Regions from separate parts of the Homo sapiens genome. Here region 2 is linked to region 1. The links are contacts of gene promoters, found by promoter capture Hi-C in blood cells and fetal thymus (Javierre and others, 2016). All regions are on one chromosome and are shown on one strand. The core of a region is centred on a gene start or on the middle of the fragment in contact, and the rest is flanking DNA. Distances in the headings are between cores, read along the strand shown.

The links. Contacts are between HindIII fragments. The CHiCAGO score rates a contact against its expected background, and 5 or more counts as called.
Region 2: the fragment with the promoter of EFCAB12 here is called in contact with the fragment with the promoter of OSBPL11 in region 1 in 1 of 17 cell types (neutrophils); the score reaches 5.2 in neutrophils.

What each region holds. Positions count from the first base shown.
Region 1 is chr3:125,590,426-125,597,595 of GRCh38, reverse strand. OSBPL11 (oxysterol binding protein like 11) reads left to right here and starts at 2,099. Exons shown (of 13, transcript NM_022776.5): 1 at 2,099-2,959. The coding sequence starts at 2,796. RefSeq lists a silencer at 1,982-2,391 and enhancers at 2,492-2,551, 3,512-3,571. The HindIII fragment of the contact is 11,640 bases long and covers 1,385-7,170 here.
Region 2 is chr3:129,423,718-129,430,291 of GRCh38, reverse strand. EFCAB12 (EF-hand calcium binding domain 12) reads left to right here and starts at 1,656. Exons shown (of 9, transcript NM_207307.3): 1 at 1,656-1,852. The coding sequence starts at 1,804. RefSeq lists a silencer at 1,470-1,519 and an enhancer at 5,702-5,751. The HindIII fragment of the contact is 3,479 bases long and covers 1-2,325 here.

The DNA of each region.
Region 1 (7,170 bases), core at 850-3,349:
ATTTACTTTTTTTTTTTTGAGACAGAGTCTTGCTCTGTTGCCTGGGCTGGACTGCAGTGGCATAATCTCGGCTCACTGCAAGCTCCGCCTCCCAGGTTCATGCCATTCTCCTGCCTCAGCCTCCCGAGTAACTGGGACCACAGGCGCCCGCCACCACACCCGGCTAATTTTTTGTATTTTTAGTAGAGATGGGGTTTCACCGTGTTAGCCAGGATGGTCTCGATCTCCTAACCTCGTGATCTGCCCACCTCAGCCTCCCCAAGTGCTGGGATTACAGGAGTGAGCCACCATGCCCGGCCGGTTTTTGTTTTTTTCTTTCTTTCGTTGAGACTGAGTCTTGCTCTTGTTGTCCAGGCTGGAGTGCAGTGGCGCAATCTCAGCTTTTAGTAGGATGAGCCGCAGACAAAACCTCTCAGACACCGAGTTGTAGAAGGAAGGGCTTTATCCAGCTGGGAGCATCAGCAAGCTACTGCCTCAAAATCTGAGCTCCCCAAGTGCACAATTTCTGTCCCTTTTAAGGGCTCACGACACTAAAGATTTCACATGAAAGGGTCATGATTGATTTGAGCAAACAAGCGGTACATGACAGGGGCTGCATGTACCGGTGGTCAGAGAGAAACAGAACAGGGCAGGGAGTTTCACAATGTTCTGCTGCACAATGTCTGGAATCCATGAATAACATCGGTTTCTAAGTTATGAGTTGATTTTTAACTACTGAGTTTAGGCCAGGCAGGCCCAGGCCTGGTTTCCGGCCTGGCGCTGGGCTGCCTGTCTTTGGTTTTACTTCCTTGCTGTTTCTTTTTTTCTTAAAACAGGTACTGAGTATAAAACAATATGAGAGGGTCTCTCTCCTTCCTCAGGCTCACTGCAACGTCCGCCTCCCAGGCTCAAGTGATTCTTCTGTCTCAGCCTCTTAAGTAGCTGGGATTACGGGCACGCACCACCATGCCCGGTTAATTTTTGTATTTTTAGTTGAGAATGGGTTTCACCATGTTGGCCAGGCTGGTCTCGAACTCCTGACCTCAAGTGATCCGCCCACCTCGGCCTCCCAAAGTGCTGGGATTACAGGCGTGAGCCACTGTGCCCAGCCTCAAGTCATGTTATTATAAACTAAAATTAGCAATTAGGAGAGACTTTAGAAATCTACCCATGCACTCTTGTTTTACAAATCCAAAACCAAGGCCTAAACAAGGTGAAAGATTTGTCTGGGGTCTGGAAGAGTACCTAGCTCTGTTCTGAGATCTCTAATTTCCATGACAGCTTCTTTTTAATTTATAATAATGATTGGCTTTACTCCAATGTCATGCTTGCCCCCCCCCCACCCCAAGTAACTAAAACGTACAGATGTTTGCTTCGTTCTTGTACTTTCTTATTTTTGTAAGCTTTCTTCCTAAAATGCCTGGAACGGCCCCTCAAATGGAAGGCTAGGACGTGGTTAGGAAGGCGGGCACTCGGCCGGGCGCGGTGGCTCACGCCTGTAATCCCAGCACTTTGGGAGGCCGAGGCGGGCGGATCACGAGGTCAGGAGATCGAGACCATCCCGGCTAAAACGGTGAAACCCCGTCTCTACTAAAAATACAAAAAACTAGCCGGGCGTAGTGGCGGGTGCCTGTAGTCCCAGCTACTTGGGAGGCTGAGGCAGGAGAATGGCGTGAATCCGGGAGGCGGAGCTTGCAGTGAGCCGAGATCGCGCCACTGCACTCCAGCCTGGGCGACAGAGCGAGACTCCGTCTCAAAAAAAAAAAAAAAAAAAAGGAAGGCGGGCACTCACACACCAGAAGGGAACTCTCTAGTGCTGCTGGCTCCTTTGTTTCTTCCTCCTTCACTGTCCGGGTTCCTCGTTCCGTTGCGGCGCCCTCCCTCGCCCTCCCTCGCCCATCAGCCAGTCGCCCAGCTACCAGCTCCCAGAGCCTCCGCCTCCTTCAGGGACCCGCCGCCCTGACCCAAGATGGCGCCAGACGCTTCGGCTGTGAGGGAAGTGAGCTCACGCTACTCCGGAAGGGAAGGCGGGAAGGGAGCAGGGGGCGGGGGGTGGCTGACCCGCTGTGGGGCTGTGGGGCTGTGGGGCTGTGGGTGGGGCGGCGGCCGCGGCCCTGGCATTCGCGCTTGGGTCTGGAGATAGCGCGAGAGACTCACCGGCTCCTGGGAACCCAGTCGAGGGCCCGGGCCAGGGGCATAAGAGGAAGTTGTCCCGAGTGGCTCGCCTCTGGCCCTGGGAGAGGCGGCCCCGGGAGCCGGCGTCCCGCCCCCGGCGGCCTCATTCCCCGACCCTCCTCCCCGGCTGCGCGCGCCGGCCCTGGCTGTATCTCGGGGGCTGCGGCGGGAACTGCCGAGCGGGCTTGACTGGACGCACTGCCTGAGGACCTGCGGAGGAGACGAGGGAGCGCGGCGGGTCAGCCCCGAGGTTAGGCCGCGGGTCCCCTGTCCGTGGCGCTCCGTCCTTTTCCCAGCCGTCTTGGCTACAGAATCTGCGACCTCCCCACACTCCTTCTCTTTTGAGTATGTCACTTAAGTCTTCTCGCCGGATGCTTTTTCCTCCTTGCTTTTGCCGGAAAGGAGAGAGATACATGTGAAGGATATCTGTCCTCGTTGCTTCCCCTGCCCTCTCAAAAGTTTAACTTCTGTGGGAATGTGTATCTTCCTTTTCTGGACCATTTGACAGTCCCGCCCCAGCCGCCGTGTGATTTAGCAACCGGTATCATATTCAGATCAAATCTTAAAAAAAAAAAGTCACCTACAGAACTACAGAATTGTTCTCTCCCGCTCAAGAAGGGCAAGTGGACTTTGGCGTTAAGATGCAGGGGGGTGAACCAGTGTCCACAATGAAAGTCTCGGAGAGCGAAGGAAAGCTGGAGGGCCAGGCCACAGCGGTGACCCCGAACAAGAACAGCAGCTGTGGAGGTGGAATCAGTAGCAGCAGCAGCAGCCGCGGTGGCAGTGCAAAAGGCTGGCAGTACAGGTATGCTCCTTTCTCCAAAATTATTTCCCGAGGTGGAGGTAGGGGTGAATATGCCCTGGAGGCTGCATCCCGCAATTGTTGAAAGATAAAAGTTTTTTCACTGGCTTCCAGAAGCTACTGATACATCTCGTTTGGATCTGGGACCTCGCCTAAAAGATTTAATCCATTCATTTGTTCATTCAACAGGTATTTATGGAAGGCCTTTTGAGGAACACAGAAATGTATCCCTGAACTTCCTCTACAGTCAGAGAGTTAATGCTTCCTCAGATTTAATTCTGTACTCACTTCTGCTTTTGCCTATGTTGCAATTTATTTACAAGCCAGCTTTCTCTGATAGACTGCGAGGGCAGGAACTGTTTAACTCAGCTTTCTCGAGAGGGTAGCAAATACTGGTGCTCAAAACTTACTTGTCCAGAGCTTCTCCAGAATCAGAAAAGATTCTTGCCCTGAAGGTATTTGTGACTTGGAAAGGGGAATGTACATAAGTAATTGGAATGCAAGGACAAAGGTAGAGATCCTAATGCCTCTGATAAACTAAACCTGAGCCTGGAGATGTTCAGTTTGCGTTGCTCAGGCCACTTCAATGCTCTCTGTGTTGATGAGAAAGTCTATATTTGTTAATTTTCACTAATATGAATGAACAACTTAAGGAACAGGAGGAGAGTCCTGGAGAGGCAACAAGTTTTGTTTTTGTTTTTTCATATATGAAGTGTAGGGAGAAAGAACTATCCAGAACCTTAAGAATGAATGAAACAAACCAGCACATCCCATCGTATTGGAACTAAAGGGATGAATTCTTAAGTTTTGATTGACTCCTATGTGCCTAACTGTAGTCCTTTTTAGCCTTTGTGCTTATTTGTGCTTGTGAAATTTTTGTGAAACTTGGAAGGGATTAAAGCCAAGATTTTGTGAGGGATATACATTTATCATGAATAATATTCATATGTATGAAATATGCATGACTATATTAACATATAGAAGTGAAGTATAGAAGATTATAATTTTTTTTTTTTTTTTGAGGCAGAGTCTGGCTCTGTCACCCAGGCTGGAGTGTGGTGGCGCGATCTCGGCTCACTACCACCTCCACCTCCTGGGTTCAAGCGATTCTCGTGTCTCAGCCTCCCGAGTAGCTGGGATTACAGGCGTGCGCCACCACACCTGGCTAATTTTTGTATTTTTAGTAGAGATGGGGTTTCACCATGTTGGCCAGGCTGGTCTCGAACTCCTGACCTCAAGTGATCAGCCCTCCTCTGCTTCCCAAAGTGCCGGGATTACAGGCTTGAGCCACCGCGCCTGGCCAGAAGATAACTTTTTATTGGTAAGTGACTGTAGGATAAGAAGATATATTCAGTTAGTTTGAGAGGTCTAGGCCCGCTTTTGGAATCAGCATGATTTTTTTGTATGTGTGTGACCTGTGGCAGGGGCCGCGGGTCCCCTGTCCGTGGCGCTTCGTCCTGACCTGCTATGGGGCTGTGGGTGGGGCGCCGCCGCGGCCCTGGCATTCACATTTGGGTCTGGAGAGAGCCGGGAGTCTATTAAGTTGGTTGTGAGGTGCCTTCGAATGTTATTTTTGGTTTACAACTTTCTTGATGATATTGTTTGCAGCACAATGGTTTTTAATTTTCATGAAGTCTAATGAGTTTTTTCTTCTCTTGTTATAGTTTTGTGTCACATCTAAAAAAACATTGTGAAGTTTAAGATGACAAAGATTTACACTTATGTGTTTGTCTAGGAGTTTTGTTTTAGTGCTTATGTTTAGGTTTCTGATGCATTTTTAGTTCATTTTTCTTTATGATCATTTTTTTTTCTTTTGTGAAACATCTACATATGTGTTTTTTATACATTTCCTGTTAGGTCTTAATATTTTTCTTTTTAATATGCTTGATATCTCTTATTAAAATGTCAACATTAAATACCAATATTCCTTTAAAAATATTTTGTTGATTTTTCTTCTTTTCAATAGGTAAAGGGATGAGTATATACAATGAAACATTTCCCTTACATACTTTCCCAGCCACTCGGTTTCCTTCTCTGGAAATGCTATCTTTTACTGATTTCTTGACTATAATTCCAGAGAAATTTATATTAGTTCTTTATTTAATAAACATGTGATGACATGCAATATATTTTAATTTTGTATAAATTCTTTGCTATACTTTCTGCAAATATTTCACTAGTCCTCAGATTTAATTTCATTTTTTTTGACACACAGAAAACTTTTAAGTCAGACCTCTTATTCCTCTTTTCCATCCATTTCTAATTATAAAAAGTAACTTTTATAAGTACTTGGTTTTGGCTGGCACTGTAGCTCACCCAAAGTGTTGATCCTTAGCACTTTGGGGCGCTGAGGTGGGAGCATTACTTGAGCCCAGCAGTTTGAGACTAGCCTGGGCAACATAGAGAGACCCCATCTCTACAAAAAATTAAAAAATTAGCCAGGCATGGTGGCATGCCTACTCAGGAGGCTGAGGTGGAAGGATTGCTTGAGTTCTAGGCTCCAGTGAGCTGTGATTGTGCCACTGCACTCAAGCCTGGGTGACAGAGCAAGACCCTGTCTCAAAAATAGTTAAATAAATAGTTGTTTTCATGAAGTTTTAAAATAATTTGGTAGTTTTACAATTTAACTTTTTTTTTTGAGACAAGGTCTCTCTCTGTCTCCCAGGGTTGAGTGTGGTGTCTCCATCATAGCTCACTGCAGCCTTGAACTGCTAGGCTCAAGTGATCCTCCTATTCAGCTTCTGGAATAGCTGGGACTACAGGTGTACACCACCATGCCCAGCTAATTTTAAAATTTTTTTCTAGAGGCAGGATCTTGCGATGTTGCCCAGGCTCATATTTAACTTTTTAATCTATCTGGAATTTATTTTGAAATACAGTGTGAGATAGTGTATCTACTACTGCATTACAAATTACCCCCAAATTTAATATATTAGCAGCATTTATTATTTCATAGTGTCTTTGGGTCAGGAATCTCAGTGCAGCTTAGCTGGGTCTTCTGGCTCTGAGTCTTTCTTAAGACTGAACTGGGAAGGATTCATTTCCTAGCTGATTCATGAGACTCTTGGTGCAATTCAGTTCCTTTTGGCCCATTGGACAAAAAACTCAGTTCCTCATGAACTGATGGCCAGAGACCTCCTTTGTTCACTGGCCACATGGGCTTCTTCACAGAGCATCTTACAACTTGGCAGCTTGTTTCTTGAGAATGAGGAGGTAAGAGGACTAGAGAGTGCTACCTGGAGAGAAGTTAACAGTCTTTTGTAACCTAAGCACTGAGGTGAATTCACATCACTTTTCACTGTTCTTCAGAAACAAGTCCCACACAAGGGTGTGAGAATACCAGCAGGTGGGGATTATTGGGATTTATGCCAGAAAATGCCTAGGCAGTTAATATAATAGACTCAAGATTGTAAAGACTAGAGGGGAAAACGGACTTGGGGAGTCAAATTATGTATCTGGTTTTAGGTATGTCCAGCTAAAGTTGCCAGAATGTTTAAGTGTCTTATCTAGCCAGTCCTCAGAGATATGGAGTATTGGAAATGTAGATAATTGTCTTTACATTATCCAGAATGTTTTCACATCTGTTATCACATTTAATCCTCCCAACTCTGGAGGAAGATACAGCATTATTATTCCTGTTTTGCAGTTGAAGAAAACCTAAGTCTAAATGACAATATAGACTTAGGCAATATAGTACATGAAGTTATATATTGCATGTAGCTAAGGTTACATAGCTAGTAAGTGGGAGAACTTTTATTTCTAGATAGATATTTACATAGAGGTATTAAAAGTAGATAAACTCTCTAAAAGGAATGAATAATTATTGATAATAACTAGTTTGGTACATGGTTGGTTTTATGGTTTACTCATGTTCTAACTTATGTAGCAAATATTTTTGAGTCTCTACTATGTCTGAAGCACTCTTTTATTAATGCCAAATTAATGTGCACACCCAAAACAACGAAAGAATGAATTCTAAGGCTTATTTTAGGAGGATCATCAAAATAATCAGGAAAAGGAAGGGCATCAGTGGCATTTACAAAACAATCTCATGATGACCTTTTGAAAAAAAAAATTTTTTTTTTGAGACAGAGTCTGGTCCTCTTGTGCAGGCTGGAGTGCGGTGGCAGATCTTAGCTCACTGCAACCTCTGCCTCCCAGGTTCAAGTCCAAGCGATTCTCCTGCCTCAGCTTCCCAAGTAGCTGGGACCACA
Region 2 (6,574 bases), core at 407-2,906, 3.8 Mb before region 1:
GTTGTTCAGGAAACTGCCTTTGTTGTAGGGCAGTGTGAACCGAATCAGGCTGCAGTGTGATGCAGAGGTAGTTGGTTGTTTCCACTTTAGTGAGTGTCAGTTTTTAGAAGGATAGATTTTGACCAGAGAACAGGAAAACTGGCCACACCTCCCTCTCCCCAAGGCAAACCCACTTTATAGTTTACCATCACATTTTCATTTAACAAACATCCAAGTAGCATTCACAAAGTGTAAAGCCCTGTGGTGGGGAGGGGCACAAAGATAAACAAGTTCTGTACAGACCCTCACAGAGAGAAAGAAGGGCACCTAATAATGGAAGGGAACAAAAGCGGTAAGGAGTAGGGACAAGACACCCAAAGAGGGTGGAGAGGGGCCTCTGAAACCTTGGGCCCAGCTGGGCCTGGAGGGTGGGGCGAGCTCACCAAGCTCAGGGCATCAGGTGTGGCTTTGTGGTAGGGCTGGTGGTCACATACCTTCCCCCAGCATCTCCATGGGGAGTGTGGGCCCGTGTGAATGCAGGAGGCGAGCTCTGCACCAGGGGAGCTCAGGACACAGCCAGGTTGCTCAGGCTCTAGGCCTGGCTTTTCCTGTTTCTTGCAGGTGAGGTTGCCTGACCTCTGTACCTGTTAACTTGTCTTTTAAAAATGGGATAGTGGTGTCTACCTCACACAATGATGGTAATTATGAAGTTCAGACATGTAGTGCTAAAATGGTACCTGGCTTGCAAGAGTGCTGTGTGAATGTGGCCCATGGCAACAATCTGTTTGCAAGCGTCACAAAGATAGCTTGTCTCAGCAAAGGAATAAGGGCTTAGGTGTTTCTCTTTAACTTTTTAAAAATTGAGCTAAAAGCCACCATTTAACCATTTTAAAGTGTACAGTTCAGTGGTTTAGTACATTTACAGTGTGCAGCCATCATCACTAATTCCAGAAGTTTCCATTTCTTTTTTCCACTCCAAAAAGAATCTCTCCACCTGTTAGCAGTCACTTCAATTACTCACCCCATCCCCTAGCAACCATTCATCTACTTTCCGTGTCTGTGGGTTCGTCTATGCTGAACATTTCACATAAATGGAATCATACAGCACGTGGCCTTTTGTGTCTAGCTTCTTGCTTAGCATACTGTTTTGAAGGTTTATCCATATTGTAGCATGTACTTCATTCCTTCTTATGGCCATCCTATGGATATACCTCATTTTGCTTATCAGTTGATGCACATTTCAAGGGTTTATTATTATTCTCTGGTCCTCAGGTTCTGTAACTCCAAACCATGGCACCCTGCCATAAGCGGGGCAGAACATACCCAACACCTCTATCTGGCCACAGCTCACTTTGGTTCTTCCTAACCCTCTGGAGGAGGCAGGGCCTATTTTTCCTATGAGAAAACTGAGGCCTAGAGATATGGAGACCTGCGGAAGATCCCACATTTCACGGGAAAACCGGAGACTTTCTACACTGGATTCAGGGACTACTGGGCCGAACAAAGAAATCCCGCCTTTCACCAAGCCCAGAACTGGGCGGGGCGTGGATTTGCTCGCTGCCCCTCCCAGAATTGGACGAAAACGAGGTGGGGCCAGCAGGCGCTCGGCAGGGCGGGCTCGCTCTTAACACGTGACAGCGCTCAGCCAATTGGCGCGGGGCGTCCGTAGCCACGGCAACAGGTTGCTTCTGCAGTCTGAGCTGAGCGCCTTTCGCACGACTTGGAGTTACGGTTTATCTGATACCCCGGTACCCCTACGCAAGCAAGCCCACATCGACACACATTCACACACGCCCTTCAGCACCCCCTCCCAGCACCACGACCATGGACGACGACTATGAAGCGTACCACAGTCTGTTCTTGTCGCTGCTCGGTAAGCCCCGGGAAGAAGCGTCTGCAGGGAGCGCTCAGCGCCCTAAGGACGCGTGAAAGTGGGGTGAGGGCAAAAACTCAGCCACAGATATTGTGCCGACCCCCTCTGGGTGAAGGGTTGCCATGGAGTCGGGGGCAGGTCATGTACATTTCTGAGATTTCTATCTGAGCCTAGTTGGAGGAACCAGAGGCCCGACCCATGTGACGGGAGCCCTCCAGCTCGCCCTGTTTCTCTGCAGGACATTAATGTATTCAGTACTGGAGGAGAGGCATGGAGAAGACGTCAGTCTTCAAGGTTTTGGCAGTAATGTGCTGGGGACCAAGTTCTTGGCAAAGCAATGCAGCTTCACGGGTAAAGGACAGAGATAAATGGATAATTACAGAATAAGAAGGGGTAAATGCCGGGCCCAGGGATGACACCCAGGAGTAAAAGGTGTGCTGAGGGTATGGGATGGGGAGGAACAGTTCCAAGCTTTTGGAAAAGATCTTTACACTGGAGCTTAAAGGATAAAAAGGAGTTCTCCAAGCCAAAAGGGGAAGGAAAAGCATTTCGGGCAAGGAAACAGCATGACCCAAGAGGTCTGGTGTCTCTGGAAATGAGGTGAGAGAGGTCAGAAGGGACAAGATCATAAAAGATACTGCAAGCCAGGAGATGGAGAGGCCACTGGGAGTGGCAGGACTGGATTGGGAGCAGTCAGAAAAGACCTGAGACTGAGTTGGCAGACTCAGAATGTTGGTGTGGGGAGATGAGAGCTGGGGGCTATAAAGCTTGAAGACTGAAGGTCTTCTCCATGCCGCTTCTCCAGCACTGAACACATTAATGCCCAGTGGAGAAACAGGGAGAGCTGGAGAGGCTGGCCACCTTTCCCAGGCACACAGGTCAGGGCTCTGGTCAAATGCCCAAGCTAAAGATGCTGGGAGGTGAGGGAGAAGGCCCAGGCTAGAGGGAACTACGGGACTTGGGGGCTGGTTGGTCAGGAAACACAGAAGAGGCAAATAAAGATGGTTCTCAAGTTGGCAGCTGGGGGACCTGGTAGATGGAGATGTCTTCCACAGAGATAAGAGAACGTACTCAGAGGACCCAGTTAGTGGGGGAAGGGGCACAAAGACAAATCCAGTCTTGGTTGGTTGAGTTTAAGATCCTTGTCAGTAGCTGGGCACAGTATCTCACGCCTGTAATCCCAGCACTATGGGAAGCTGAGGCAGGAGGATTGCTTGAGCCCAGGAGTTTGAGAATAGCCTGGGCAACATAGTGAGATCCCATCTCTACAAAATTGTTTTTTAAAGTTAGCCAGGCCTGGTGGGGTGGCTCACGCCTGTAATCCCAGCACTTTAGGAGGCTGAGGTGGGTGGATCACGAGGTCAGGAGATCAAGACCATCCTGGCTAACACAATGAAACCCCGTCTCTACTAAAAATACAAAAAATTAGCCGGGCATGGTGGCAGGCGCCTGTAGTCACAGCTACTCAGGAGGCTGAGGCAGGAGAATGGCATGAACCAGGGAGGTGGAGCTTGCAGTGAGCCAAGATCATGCCATTGCACTCCAGCCTGGGTGACAGAGCAAGACACCATCTCAAAAAAAAAAAAAAAAAAAAGGTTAGCTAGGCTTAATGGCATGCACCTGTAGTCCCAGCTACTCAGGAGGCTGAGCTGGGAGGATCATTTGAGCCCAGGAGTTCAAGGCTGCAGTGAGCTATGATTGAGCCACTGTACTCCAGCTTGGGGAACAGAGCAAGACCCTGTCTCAATTAAAAATAAATAATAAAAAAAGATCCCCGGCCGGGCGCCGTGGCTCACGCCTGTAATCCTAGCACTTTGGGAGGCTGAGGTGGGCGGATCACCAGGTCAGGAGATCGAGACCATCCTGGCTAACACAGTGAAACCCCATCTCTACTAAAAATACAAAAAATTAGCCGGTCGTGGTGGCAGACACCTGTAGTCCCAGGTACTCGGGAGGCTGAGGCAGGAGAATGGCGTGAACCCGGGAGGCAGAGCTTGCAGAGAGCCGAGATCGTGCCACTGCACTTTAGCCTGGGAAACAGAGCAAGAGTCCGTCTCAAAAAAAAAAAAAAAAAAAAAAACAAAAAAAAACCCTGTAAGCCATCCAAGTGGAGATGTTTTAGGAACAACTGGAGGTATAAACTTGGAGCTAATTCCAAGTCAAAAATATTGGTATGGATGTCCCCAGCATACAGAAGGTCATAGAAACATGAGAATGGAAGGGATTATTTAAAAAGAGAAGAGACCCTGGGTATAAGCCTGGAAGCAACAACCTTTAAGGAGTAATCAGGAAAAGAGGGGCCCAAAAACAATAGCCGGAGAGGTAGAATTGGACATAGCAAGAGATTGAATCAAGCCAAGAGCAGGGAGAATTTCAAGAAAGAGTAGAATTGTTTCCAGACACCTATAGGCTGTCTGAGAAAAGAGAGAACAAGTGTGTTTTCTGGGACATCCATGGGGAGGACTAGAACCAAAGGGTAGAAAGTCCAGGGAAACAAATTCTGGGTCAATATAAGGAAATATTTTCTAGCAGTCAGAGTTTAGTGTCCACCATGTTAAGTAGAAAGTTCCACGTCACAGGAGATGTATAAACAGAGGCAAAGTCTGCCAGTGGCATTGAGGAGAGTGTCCCTGACCTGGGCAGGTGATTGAACTAGCTGGCGTCTGAGAGCTTTCCTTGCCAATTTCCTAGGAACATTGTCACATAGTCTCTACCCATAACTACACAATGACAGCCTCTTTTATTATAAGAGCCCATTTCCCTTTCTGTCAATGGACACAGGACTCCAAAGAGCACTAGAATGAAGCTCCCTGAGGAGGTTTGGTGGGCAGGCACCCTTGGAAAGTGGGGTCAGGGGCTGGTGCAGGTTTAGAACTGTGAGGAGAATGACTCGGCCAGGGGAAGCCCTGGGGAATGCAGTGCTCTTCAGAGGGCACAGCAAATGCAAAAACTGAAAACCCAGAGCCAGGAAGGAACAAGGCACCTCAGACAACAGAAAGGAGGACAGCAGCTGGGACCACATGAGTGAGGGGGCGGGGGCTGGGAGGTGACAAGGGAAGAGTGGGGAGCAGGGCCAGTGAAGGCAGCTTTGTAGGCCACAGAAGGAGGCGGGTATTTATTCAAAGAGCACTAAGAATCCATTGAATGGTTTCAAATGGGGAAGGGACAGACTGTGAATTTACATTTGTAAGGCTCTCCTGGCTGAGGGCAGAACATGGATTGGGGGTCTAGGGAGGACCCAAATGGGAGCAGCAAGACCTGTGGGGAGCAGGTTTTGTGTTCCCGTGGCCTGCAGGGTAAAGTTTCAATCTCTTAGCCTGGCATTTGAGATGACGCCAACCTTATTTCCCACTAACCTCCTCCTTTACACACAGTGGGCTTCCAACATGTGGAACTGTCTGGTGACCCTAAAATCCCCAAATCCCACTCCTGACCTTTCCCCATCCCTGCCCCTCCACCCCATGAAGCCAGACCATTCTTGAAGGTCCACATCAAAGACACCTCTTCCTTGATGCCCTCCCAGGTCCCACAGTCAGCATTTCTCCCCCAACTGAGAACATCTTGTTACCCTCTGGGTGCCCCACCTTGTTCCATTGGGTGGACTGAGAACAGGTGAACCACGGTAGGTGCCCAGCCTAGTTTAATCTGCACCTGGTTCAGCACCAAGCCCTGGGGGATTCTCAATAAATACTGATTTGATGAATGACTACATTCTCAGTCATCCCCTGCTGGGAATGAACTTTCTTGTGGTCAAAGTAATGATACATGTGTTGTTTAGAAGTGTTCGCTTCCATCCCTATTGATGTGTAATATCTGTTCTAGCATTGCTATAAAGAACTACCTGAGACTAGGTAATTTATAAAGAGATGAGGTTTAATTGACTCACAGTTCCTCAGGCTGTACAGGAAACATGGCTGGGGAGGCCTCAGGAAACTTACAATCATGGCAGAAGGCAAAGACAGGCACATCTTACATAACCCAAGAAGGAGGAAGTGAGAGCAGGGGGAGGTGCTATGCTTTTGAACAACCAGATCTTGTGAGCACTCGCTCTCATGAGAACAGCAAGGGGGACGTCCTCTCCCATGATCCAATCACCTCCCACTAGACCCCTCCTCCAACAATGGGGATTATAATTTAACATGAGATTTGGGCAAGGACACAGATGCAAACCATACCATGATGTTTACTTTTCTTATTTGCTGACTCTGAAAGGAACACATGGGCCTTGTAAAGAGACTTAACAAATGTACTGAATGTCCACTTTGGGCCAGGCTGGGCACCGAGGACACAGGGGAACTAAGACACAGTCCTGGTCACTGGGAAACTCACAGGCTGTTGGGAAAGAAAGATGCAGAAAGTATCTTCATTTCAGAAAAATATGGTAAATGCTTATGATGGGACTAAGTGTGGGGGCTATGGGACCCAGAGGGCCCATGAGAAGGGGAGTGGGAGGGCTTCAAGGGGCCGGGATGCCTGAGCTGAGTCTCAAAGGGTGAGTCAGGGATCAAGAAGTGAAGCAGGGAGGGAGAAGAGCATGTCACAGGGAGGAAACAGCATGGCTTGTGTGTGTTGGTGGGGCAGATCTGTTTGGATACAAACGTAAGGGAAGGCAGAAGGAGCCAGAGAAATCGGAGAGGCTGGTAGGGGTGAGAGGACCAGGTGGGGCCAGGTTAAGGAGCTTGAACTTTACTCTAGAGGCAGTTAGGAGCCATGGACAGGTTT